Regions from separate parts of the Homo sapiens genome. Here all the other regions are linked to region 3. The links are contacts of gene promoters, found by promoter capture Hi-C in blood cells and fetal thymus (Javierre and others, 2016). All regions are on one chromosome and are shown on one strand. Each heading gives the region's core, a stretch centred on a gene start or on the middle of the fragment in contact. The rest is flanking DNA. Distances are from core to core; before and after follow the strand shown. Region 1 overlaps RPL10A (ribosomal protein L10a). Region 2 overlaps PPARD (peroxisome proliferator activated receptor delta). Region 3 holds the start of ARMC12 (armadillo repeat containing 12). Region 4 overlaps DEF6 (DEF6 guanine nucleotide exchange factor).

The links. Contacts are between HindIII fragments. The CHiCAGO score rates a contact against its expected background, and 5 or more counts as called.
Region 1: a fragment that was not itself captured here is called in contact with the fragment with the promoter of ARMC12 in region 3 in 6 of 17 cell types (naive CD4 T cells, fetal thymus, naive CD8 T cells and 3 more); the score reaches 8.5 in naive CD4 T cells.
Region 2: a contact is called between a fragment that was not itself captured here and the fragment with the promoter of ARMC12 in region 3, in 1 of 17 cell types (naive CD4 T cells). The highest score is 5.8, in naive CD4 T cells.
Region 4: a fragment that was not itself captured here is called in contact with the fragment with the promoter of ARMC12 in region 3 in 2 of 17 cell types (total CD4 T cells and non-activated CD4 T cells); the score reaches 5.6 in total CD4 T cells.

What each region holds. Positions count from the first base shown.
Region 1 is chr6:35,470,631-35,473,330 of GRCh38, reverse strand. It overlaps RPL10A (ribosomal protein L10a), which reads right to left. Exons shown (of 6, transcript NM_007104.5): 6 at 2,551-2,700. The coding sequence ends at 2,581. Among named protein-coding and RNA genes, the nearest start is that of MIR7111, 1.5 kb to the right of the region's middle. The HindIII fragment of the contact is 1,852 bases long and covers 505-2,356 here.
Region 2 is chr6:35,419,306-35,422,005 of GRCh38, reverse strand. PPARD (peroxisome proliferator activated receptor delta) reads right to left here. Exons shown (of 8, transcript NM_006238.5): 4 at 1,725-1,879; 5 at 48-186. Among named protein-coding and RNA genes, the nearest start is that of FANCE, 32 kb to the left of the region's middle. The HindIII fragment of the contact is 467 bases long and covers 1,190-1,656 here.
Region 3 is chr6:35,735,651-35,738,350 of GRCh38, reverse strand. ARMC12 (armadillo repeat containing 12) reads right to left here and starts at 1,319. Exons shown (of 6, transcript NM_001286574.2): 1 at 1,080-1,319; 2 at 179-324. The coding sequence starts at 1,242. LOC285847 (a long non-coding RNA gene) reads left to right here and starts at 1,404. Exons shown (of 10, transcript NR_027117.2): 1 at 1,404-1,510; 2 at 2,473-2,588. RefSeq lists enhancers at 1-430, 431-1,039. The HindIII fragment of the contact is 11,422 bases long and covers 1-2,700 here.
Region 4 is chr6:35,314,319-35,317,018 of GRCh38, reverse strand. All of the region lies in intron 5 of DEF6 (DEF6 guanine nucleotide exchange factor), which reads right to left. Among named protein-coding and RNA genes, the nearest start is that of DEF6, 18 kb to the right of the region's middle. The HindIII fragment of the contact is 1,874 bases long and covers 389-2,262 here.

The DNA of each region.
Region 1 (2,700 bases), core at 181-2,680, 270 kb after region 3:
AACACAGACCAAAGCCTAGGGGTTAGCAACTGACCCTAAGTGACTCAAGGAGGGTAAGCGCTCTCCCCAGGTGACAACTGCTGACCTACCCATGTCTGCCTGGAAAGCCCTGCTGTCCTGAGCCACCTGTCCACAGTAGGGACAGACCACAGTCCTTAGAGGGCTGGGGCAGAGATAGTTCAAGACTTTCAGCGGCCGGGCACAGTGGCTCACACCTGTAATCCCAGCACTTTGAGAGGCTGAGGCGGGTGGATCACGAGGTCAGATCAAGACCATCCTGGCTAACATGGTGAAACCCCGTCTCTACTAAAAAAAAAAAAATGCAAAAAATTAGGCAGGTGTGGTGGCACACGCCTGTAGTCCCAAATACTCAGGAGGCTAAGGCAGGAGAATAGCTTGAACCCGGGAGGTGGAGGTTGCATTGCAGTGAGCCGAGATTGCACCACTGCACTCCAGCCTGGGTGACAGAGCTAAACTCCGTCTCAAAAAAAAAAAAAAAAAGCTTTAAGCAAACATTTTCCCAAAGAGGCTGTTCTAGCTTTTTCTCCTGCAGTTAAATATGGGTGAACTGATTGGACTCACTTGTCACAGGATGAAACTGTATTTGCTCTAAGGGTGGCAGGCTAGAGATGAGACTCTAGAATAAAGGGTTAAACAGAATGGGGATGACCCAGTTAAATTTTAATTTCAGATAAACAGATGATTTAAGTATGTTCCATGCAATACTAAGGACATCCTGCATTTTTATTTGCTAAATCTGGCAACCCTCTAGAATCTAGTCTTCTAGGTCATTCTAGTCCAACCTTCAAGTTAACAGATCGGGAGAACTTGAGACATGTTAAATGTACTTCTCACAGCCAGTCACTGCCAACATCAGGATTCCAACCTGGTCTGCCTGACTCCACGTTGTGTGCCTGGTATCCCACTAGGAGCCCCAAACTGTCACCTGCTGGATGGGTGGGAGGGTACCGAGCCCCAGTAGGTAGGAGGGGTCCAGGAAGCAGAAATTCCTGGAGGCTGCACTGGACACCGATTACATCTGTGGGCGATTAGCACACGAGCCTTCAGATAATTGCTTTTGCTTTAAGCTGAAGTTTCCCTTTTCCTTCTGATTGCAAAGATCACAGGAGGTTCAGAAAATACAGAAAAGCCCAAAGAAAAGAAAAATAACCACAACAAGTAGCTGGCTGGACCTGTCTTGAGAACCAAAATTCACTGCTCATCCTCATTAGGTTTTATACCTTTCTTACCAAGAAAGTGCTGTTAACTTCTTAAAAGCTAAAAAAGCAAAAGCTGCTCAGAGTAAAAACCCTGTGTTCTTCATTTCAGGGACAGGGAAGGCTTGTTTTGAGAAATGCAGCATCTCCCCCGACCCCCCGACTCCCACACATACCACCGATGGACTCTTGCTGTTGCCCAGGCTAGAGTGCAGTGGTGCGATCTCAGCTCACTGCAACCTCCACCTCCCAGGTTCAAACAGTTCTGCCTCGGCCTCCCAAGTAGCTGGGATCACAGGCGTGAGCCACCGCACCCAGCCAAAATACAGCATTGTTAAGCACTGCTTTTATGCTTTAAAATAACCGTTCTCAGCCGGGGGTGGTGGCTCACGCCTGTAATCCCAGAACTTTGGGAGGCCCAGACGGGCGGATCACAAGGTCAGGAGATGGAGACCCTCCTGGCTAACACGGTGAAACCCTGTCTCTACTAAAAATACCAAAAAACTAGCCGGGCATAGTGGCGGGCGCTTGTAGTCCCAGCTACTCGGGAGGCTGAGGCAGAATGGCATGAACCCAGGAGGCGGAGCTTGCAGTGAGCCCAGATCACGCCACTTATACTCCAGCCTGGGGAATGGAGCGAAGACTCAAAAAAAAAAAAAGCAGGGATGAACTTGTTCCCCTATTTACCAAAGTCAAACTAAGCTCATTTTAGTCAAAGGTTAAAGCAGTACTGGGTGCTAGAGGCAAGAACTGCCAACAGGGAAATGCCTCAGAAAAGGAGGGGGCTTAGCCTGCCTGGGGCAAGGACCTGGAATACTGTTAACAGGATCTGGCTGGGGATGGTGACTCACACCTGTAATCCCAGCACTTTGAGAGGCCGAGGCAGAATTGCTTGAACTGGGACCCACAGATTGAGATCGCACCATTGCGCTCCAGCCTGGGCTACAAACTCCATTTAAAAAAAAAAAACAAGGTCCATTAATTATACTTTTGTACTGGTTTGCTGTGCCTTGTTTTCCTTAACATTTACTCATTACTAACCCAAAGCATAGGATACTCCACATGTGGTCTTCTTAACACAGAAATGCTGACTAAAATCCTTATTTTAAATTTACATGGACCAATCCTGTCAAAAAGCTTCAATGCCGTTAGCAACCCTATCACATATGCAAGACTGCCTGATTTTGATGGCAGAAAAACATCCTCTTCCCTATAGTACCCAACTATCCATCATCAAAGTGACAAACTACACAACTAGCCATCAGCAGTGCCAAGGCCCTCACTTGTCAGCTGACAAACCACCCCCCACCCTCAATCACAGGCAGACAGAGGGAACTGGTAATAGAATTTATTCAAATGTGCCTTAATATAGGCGCTGGGGCTTGCCCATGGTGCTCTTGATATATAAGGCCCGGACATTCTGCCAGTTTTTCTTGAGCAATGACACCAAGAAGTTGACAGCCAGGTGAATGTTATACACAAG
Region 2 (2,700 bases), core at 174-2,673, 320 kb after region 3:
GGCTGTGTGGAGCCAGCAGCCCGTGAGTTGCCCTGGTCAGCTCTCACCGTTGTGTGACATGCCCAGTGCCAGGCACTTCTGGAAGCGGCAGTACTGGCACTTGTTGCGGTTCTTCTTCTGAATCTTGCAGCTGCGCTCACACTTCTCGTACTCCAGCTTCATGCGGATCGTACGACGGAAGAAGCCCTGAAGCACCAAGAACAGGTGAGGAAAGGCCACCAGGAGGTGGGAGGGAGGCTGTGCCAAAGGGCCCGATTATGTATAAGGTGTAAACACTCCTGACATTTGGAAGTAACGAGAAGAAATTTTTTTGGAGGGGAGATGGAGAAGGAAAGTAATTCTAAAACTTTAATTAAAACTATTTTAGTTCAGGCACAGTGGCTCACGCCTGTAATCCCAGCACTTTGAGAGGCCGAGGTGGGCGGATCACCTGAGGTCAGGAGTTTGAGACCAGCCTGGCCAACATGGTGAAACCCCGTCTCTACTAAAAATACAGAAAAATTAGCTGGGTGTAGTGGCACACCCCTGTAATCCCAGCTACTCAGGAGGCTGAGGCAGGGGAATCGCTTGAACCCGGGAGGTGGAGGTTGCAGTCAGCCAAGATCGCGCCATTACACTCCAGCCTGGACAACAAGAGTGAAACTCCATCTCAAAACAAAACAAAACAAAATAAAACAAAACAAAACAAAAAAAAAACACAACTATTTTAAATGTCTAAAGAAGTCCTAAAGCTTCTTTGTTGGGGCTGGACACAGTGGCTCACGCCTGTAATCCCAGCACTTTGGGAGGCCGAGGTGGGTGGATCACCTGAGGTCAGGAGTTCAAGACCAGCCTAGCCAACATGGTGAAACCCCGTCCCTATTAAAACTACAAAAATTGGGTCAGGCACAGTGGTTCACACCTGTAATCCTAGCACTTTGGGAGGCCAAGGCAGGTGGATCACCTGAGGTCAGGAGTTCGAGACCAGCCTGGCCAATGTGGTGAAACCCCATCTCTACTAAAAATACAAAAATTAGCCAGGCATGGTGGCATGTACCTGTAATCCCAGCTACTCTGGAGGCTCAGGCAGGAGAATCTCCTGAACCCGGGAGGTGGAGGTTGCAGTTAACTGAGATCACGCCACTGCACTCCAGCCTGGGCGACAGATCGAGATTCCATCTCAAAAAAAAAAAAAAAAAAAAAAAAAGCTTCTTTGTTAGTTTGGTAACATAAGATTGTCTCACGGCTAACTTGATTTCTTCATAAATGTATCTGGTTCTGTGTATTTGTGAGGTGGTGATTCAATAAAATAATCTGTGAGATTTTGATGGGTGTGAAGTTAGGAAGGACCCACAAATATCACTGGAAAAACAAATGTCTGTCCTTTTTTCTCAGAGCCCGCTTTGAGCCTTGAGAAACAAGAAACCCAGACCTCAGGTAAGACGATGGCTCAGCCCAAGACCCTCATTCTGCCCTAGCTGCCTGGTCCCCAGGGGGACACAATCACCCACAGAGCTGGGTCAACACAGGTGCCCAGCAGGGTAGGCTTGACAAGGGAACCCCCTCTTCTCCTGCAGTGCCCAGAGCTGAGGTCTGGAGCACAAGGGCCTGGCTGCCTCCTGGGCAGGAATTCTGCAATAGGTACAGTCAGGGCCCCACCCCAAGGCAAGGAAAGCTTTGTGGAGGGTCAATTCACCATGTGACCACAGCCTCAGTGGCCAGCCACCGCTCCCCCCAGTCCGTACCTTGCACCCCTCACATGCATGAACACCGTAGTGGAAGCCCGATGCCTTGTCCCCGCACACCCGGCACTCCATGTTGAGGCTGCCGCATGAGGCCCCGTCACAGCCCATCTGCAGTTGGTCCAGCAGTGAGGGTGGCGAGGAGCTCCGGGAGAGGTCTGCGGACACACGATGGAGGGGCAGCTCCACATGCTGCCAGGCCTGGAAGCCAGGGCGTGGGAACAGCCCCACAGCCCTCGCCTCAGCCACTTAACAGCTGTGTGGCCTCAGGGAGTCAACCTTTCTGAGGACCAGTTTCTTCACCTAGAACAGGGGGTACTGACAGCTTCTCTGGGAGGATGGGCAAAAAGTCTCCACAGCATTTCTCCCAGAGCCTAACATACAGAAGATGTCCAGTACACAGCAGCTATTACCATCAGGGCTGGGTCAGAGGCTTCCTGGGCTGAACTCACCATGGGGTAGCAGTGGGGAGGAGGATGGCTGTGTTTTGGGAGGAAAGCAAGAGAGAGAAAGCAGACAGAGGGTCTTAGCCCTTAGGAAGCAGCTCTCCTGGTTCAGAGGTTGCCACCGTGTGGCCCATATGGAGATGTGTGCAACGTGTTTTGCAGAAACTGCAGGACTGTAGACCTCTGCAGAGCTAGCCTCCCCACCATCCCCCACAGGAAGTTCTATTCTTGCATAGACTCCAGGGATGCTGTAAACAATCTCTTCAAGAAGCTCAAGTTCATTCCCATGAAAACTTCTTGAGTAGAACAGCTTAGGTATCAGTCATATTGATTAAGCAACACACTGAATTTCTCCAAGTTTTTCTATCAGACGTATAGATGTTTGAACCACGGGGTGTTGAGTGTGTTGGCGAGAAAGGCAGTTTGCTAAGGCTATGACTTCAGGATATATCTGCTGTCAGATGATTTCATAAGAACTGCTAGGATTCTCTTCCCAGTGCCCTTTGGACACTCGGAAATGATCTCTTCATCTT
Region 3 (2,700 bases), core at 70-2,569:
GAAGCGGGTGTTCTGGGCCCACTGCCCCCCATGTCACCAAGATCCCTCCGCACACCCCCCCCCCACCGCTATCAGCCAGAGAGAGGTCCCAGGATATAGTCTGGCCATTCCAGGGGCAGGGATCGGCCGTAACCCCCAGGGGCCAGGCCGGCTAGGGGGGACCTCCTGCTTCCCTTACCTCAGCCTCCAGCAAGTACACACAGCGAGTGATACTGTGCAGGATCATGCTCTTGGCATACTCATCCTGTTTGCACTCCAAAGAGTTGAGGAGCCTCCGGAGCTCACCTGAGTCCCGCCCGTGCCGCTCTCGCTCGACTGCCAGGCCTAGACAGCCACCCCAGCCCAGTTCAGGCTGTGGACTCAGAAGTGATGAAAGAATGGGGTTGGGAAGTAGGGGACAGGGACTTGGGGACAAGGCTGCCTTGCCTTTTCGGAGAAGCCTTCTCGCCATATGCAGGACCACCATGTACAGTTGAACGAATGTTTACTGCACAAGGGCACCCTATCTAATGTTGTATTGTCCATAACGTACCATCATAGATTTGTCCATTTACTCTAACAACTGTCTGGCATATGGCGGTAACAAGTAGTATTTCATCATAACCAGTATGTGGCAATGATATTCCAGCAGATGGCAATAAAGAGTCTTGCAGAAGGGGCTCATTTTCCTACTCTGCACAAAAGAACATGTGGACTAGTGGAAGCTCTGGGCATATAGTAAGTCCTCCAATCTTCCCTTTCCTTAAAGCCTCACGTTCCTAGGGCAGAAAAGGGATGGGGGGAGCTGCCGACACCAAGTTTCCAAGAAGTGGAATCCTGGGAGCCAGAGGAAATGTAGTATTTGGAGACCTGCCAGATGAGTCTGAGGATCCACTTGAGTGAGATCCAGGGACCCTGAGCTAGCATCTCTGGCAGGGCCTTGCCTAGGACGCTGCAGGGTGGGCTTGAGGAAGATGGACAAGAGAAAGACAAAGGAAAGAGGAACTTGGAGGCATCACCTTTGGGCCCTCCCACAGCAGAGGCCTCGGGAGCAGGTGCCTCCTGGGGCAGAGCCCTCTCCCCAGGGCCCGGACACTCACGGGCGATGCAGATGGGTGAGTTGCTACAGAGGGGTGGTTTGCATTTTATGCCAGCCTTGATGGCCTTGTAGAGCAGGTAGATCGCCCCGGCGCCTGTGGCCAGGCTGACTACGCTTTTGCGGATGTCCAGTTGCCCCAGGTATTGGGGGATGCTCTTGCCCATGTCTTCAGTGTTGCCCTGGGCCCAGGTGAGAGCTAGGCCCAAGGCACCTGTGGGGGGCCTTCCGGAACCAGAACTCTGGCAGGGTCAGGAACCAGGGTACCAGAATTGGAACCTAGGCAACAAAGGAAACTGGGGAGATAATGGGATGGAGGGCAGTGGTCAGGAAATGGGGCAGCCAGGAGTGCTCGAGAACAGATGGGGCCAGGCACCATGGCCCACACTTGTAATCCCAGCACTTTGGGAGGCCAAGGCAGGCAGATCACTTGAGGTCAGCAGTTCGAGACCAGCCTGGCCAATATGGTGAAACCTTGTCTCTATTAAAAATACAAAAAAATTAGCCAGGCATTGTGGCGCACACATGTAATCCCAGCTACTCAGGGGACTGAGGCAGGAGAATCGCTTAAGCCTGGGAGGTTGAGGTTGCAGTGAGCTGACACGCCACTGTACTCCAACCTAAGCGACAGAGCAAGACTCCATTTCAAAAAAAAAAAGAGAAGGTTCTGCTTTAGAGACCACAGGAGATGAAGCATAAGACAGAAGGGGAATAAAAGGGGAGAGGGCAGAAGTGTCCTTCACATCTCCTCTTCTTTAAGGGGGGACCCCAGCAGGTAGCTCCAGAGGCTGCCTTTCCACCATTAGAGGGCAGCAGAGGTCCATTTCCGGGCTGGGGCCTTAGGGCATTTCTGGGTGAGGTGTTTGGGGTATGCCCATTGACAACCCTGTTCCTTTTCTTTCCGGGCCCTCCCATATGTGATCTCTCCACCCTAGATCTACCCCTGGGCCTTGGGGTGTTTCTTCAGGTAGGGTTCCCTCCCCGCATCAGAGGATGAAAAGGAGGGGAGTATCTTAGAAAGCATGCACAGACTCTTGAGGCAAATCCACCCTTTTCCAGCATCTGCATGTTGCCCTGAAGTTTACCTGTTTGACAAAGTGCTCTTGAGGACAGCTACCTTTGCATCTCCAGCATAGAATCTTGTACTTAGCAGGTGGTTTAAGTCATGTTCTGCCATTCTTTAAGGACTTGGCGGCAGAACAATGACAGCATCTAGTAACTGGGGCTCCAGACCCTTCTAACCAGAGTGACCTTGGAGGAGAAAGGGATCGCCTTTGCCTTAGTCTGTTTCTGCATTTGTAACCTAAAGGGATTCGGATTTACCATTCTAAAACTCCAGGATTAAAATGTGGGTAAGTCTGTGCCTTTCAGCTAAATTTGGAAGTATCACCTCTCAGCCTCCCCAGGGATATGAGGCGGCTTGTGAGGTCCTCTGGAGTCAGAAGATGCCACCACCCCAGAGGATGTGAGCCCACCTGTGGAGGTCTTGATCCCCACCACTAGGATGGGGCAGGTGAGACCAGACCCTTCCCTCTTCCCCACCAGGGTCTCCCCGCAACTTCTGTCCCCACTCTCTGTTGCAGAACAGGCAAGTGGCCAGCTCCAAACTAGGGCCACGCCCACAG
Region 4 (2,700 bases), core at 76-2,575, 420 kb after region 3:
AGCCTGAAAACATTTCTAAGTAAAAGAAACCAGACACAAAGGGACAAATATTTTATGATTCTATTTATGTAAGATACCTAGAAAAGGCAAATTCATGGAGACAGAAAGCAGAATAGAGGATACTAGGAGCTGGGGTCAGGGAGTATGAGGAGTTATTGCTTGGTAGGTACAGAGTTTCTGTTTGGTGTGATGAAAAAGTTTTGGAAATAGATAGTGGTGATGGTTGTACAATATTGTGAGTATAGATCTTTCACCATGATCAGATGGGATTCATCCCAGGGATGCAAGGATGGTTCAACATGCACAAATCAATATGCATGACACATCATAGTAACAGAACCAAGAGCAAAAACCATATATGATCATTTCAATAGACCCTGAAAAAGCTTTCTAAAAAAATTCAACATCGTGTTATAAAAGCCCTAAAATATTGGGTATAGAGGCAACATACCTTAAAATAATAAACGCTATCTATGACAAACTCACAGCTAACATTGTAATAAATGGAGAAAAATTGAAAGCCTTTCCTCTAAGATCTGGAACAAGACAAGGATGCCCACTTTTACCACTTTTATTCCATGTAGTATTGGGAGTTCTGGCCAGAGCAATTAGGCAAGAGAAGGAAATGAAGGGCATCCAAACTGGAAATGAAGAAGTCAGATTAGCCTTGTTTGCAGATGGCATGGTCTTCTACTTAGAAAAATCTAAAGACTCCATGGGGCGTGGTGGCTTACACTTGTAATCCTAACACTTTGGGAAGCTGAGGTGGTTGGATTGCTTGAGGCCAGGAGTTCGACACCAGCCTGGGCAATACAGTGAGATCCTGTCTCTCTCTTAAAAAAAAAAAAAAGGCCGGGCACAGTGGCTTATACCTGTAATCCCAGCACTTTGGGAGGCCGAGGTGGGCAGATCATCTGAGGTCAGGAGTTTGAGACCAGCCTGGCCAACACGGTGAAATGCTGTCTCTACTAAAAATACAAAAAAAAAAAAAATTAGCCAGGTGTGGTGGCAGGTGCCTGTAATCCCAGCTAACTTGGGAGGCTGAGGCAGGAGAATCACTTGAACTCGGGAGGCGGAGGTTGCAGTGAGCTGAGATCGTGCCATTGCACTCCAGCCTGGGCGATAAAAGCAAGACTCCTCCTCCTCCTCAAAAAAAAAAAAAAAAAAAAAAGGGACTCCAACAAAAAACCGTTAGAGTTGATGAATGAATTCAGTAAAGTTGCAGGATAATTCAACATACAAAACCCAGTAGCATTTGTATACGCTAACAGCAAACAATCTGAAAAAGAAGTTGAGTGCAATCCCATTTCCAACAGCTACAAAGAATGTAAAATACCTAAGAATCGATGTAACCAAAGTGAAAGATCTATACAAGAAAAACTATAAAACTGATGAAATAAATTGAAGAGGATGCAAAAAAATGGAGAGATATCCCATGCTATGTATTGGAAAAATTAATATTGTTAAAATAACAATATTACCCAAAGCAATTTATAGATTTGGTGCAATCTCTGTCAAAATAGCAAAGGCATTCTTCATAGATATAGAAAAAAAATCCTAAAATTTATACGGAACTACAAAAGACCTCAAATAGCCAAAGTAAGCCTGAGTAAAAAGAACGAAGCTGGAGGCATCACATTTCCTGACTTCAAAATACACTACGAACTGGCCACGGTGGTACACACCTATAGCCCCAGCTATTCAGGAGGCTGAAGCAGGAGGATCCCATGAGCCCAAGGAGACTGAGGCTGCAGTGACCTATGATCATACCACTGCACTCCAGCCTGGACACCAGAGAAAAATCCTGTCTCTAAAATAAAACAAAAAAACAAAATGTAGTACAAAGCTATAGTAACCAAATCAGCATAGTACTGGCATAAAAAGAGACACAAAGACCAATGGAACAGAATAGATAACCTAGATATAAATCCATGCATTTACAGAGAACTCATTTTTGACAAAGGCTCCAGGAACACACAATGGGGAAAGAACAGTCCTTTCAATAAATGGTTCTGGGAAAACTAAATAACCACATGCAGATGAATGAAACTAGACCCCTATCTCTCACCATATAAAAAAATCAAATAAAAATGGATTAAACATTTAAATGTAAGACCTGAAACTATGAAACTACTAGAAGAAAACATTGGAGAAATATTCCAGGACATTGGTCTGGGCAAAGAGATTTTTTGTGGAAGACCTCAAAAGCATAGGCAACCAAACCAAAAATAGAAAAATGGGATTATGTCAAGCTAAAAAGCTTCAGGACAGCCATGGAAACAATCAACAAAGTGAAGAGACAACCCACAGAATAGGAGAAAATATTTGCAAAGTATCAATCTGACGAGGGATTAATAACCAGAATATATAAGGAGCTCAAACAACTCTGTAACAAAAAACCAAATAATCCAGTTTAAAAATGGGCAAAAGATCTGAATAGATATTTCTCAAAAGAAGACATACAAATGGTCAACAGAGATATGAAAAAATGCTCAATGTCACTAATCATCAGAGAAAAGCAAATCAAAATTAAATGAGATATCATTTCATCCCAGTTAAAATGGCTTTTTACAAAAAAAATAGAGAACATCTTTTTTTTTTTTTTTTTTTTGAGATAGAGTTTCACTCCTGTCACCCAGGCTGAAGTGCAATGGTGCAATCTTGACTCACTGCAACCTCCATCTCCAGGTTCAAGCGATT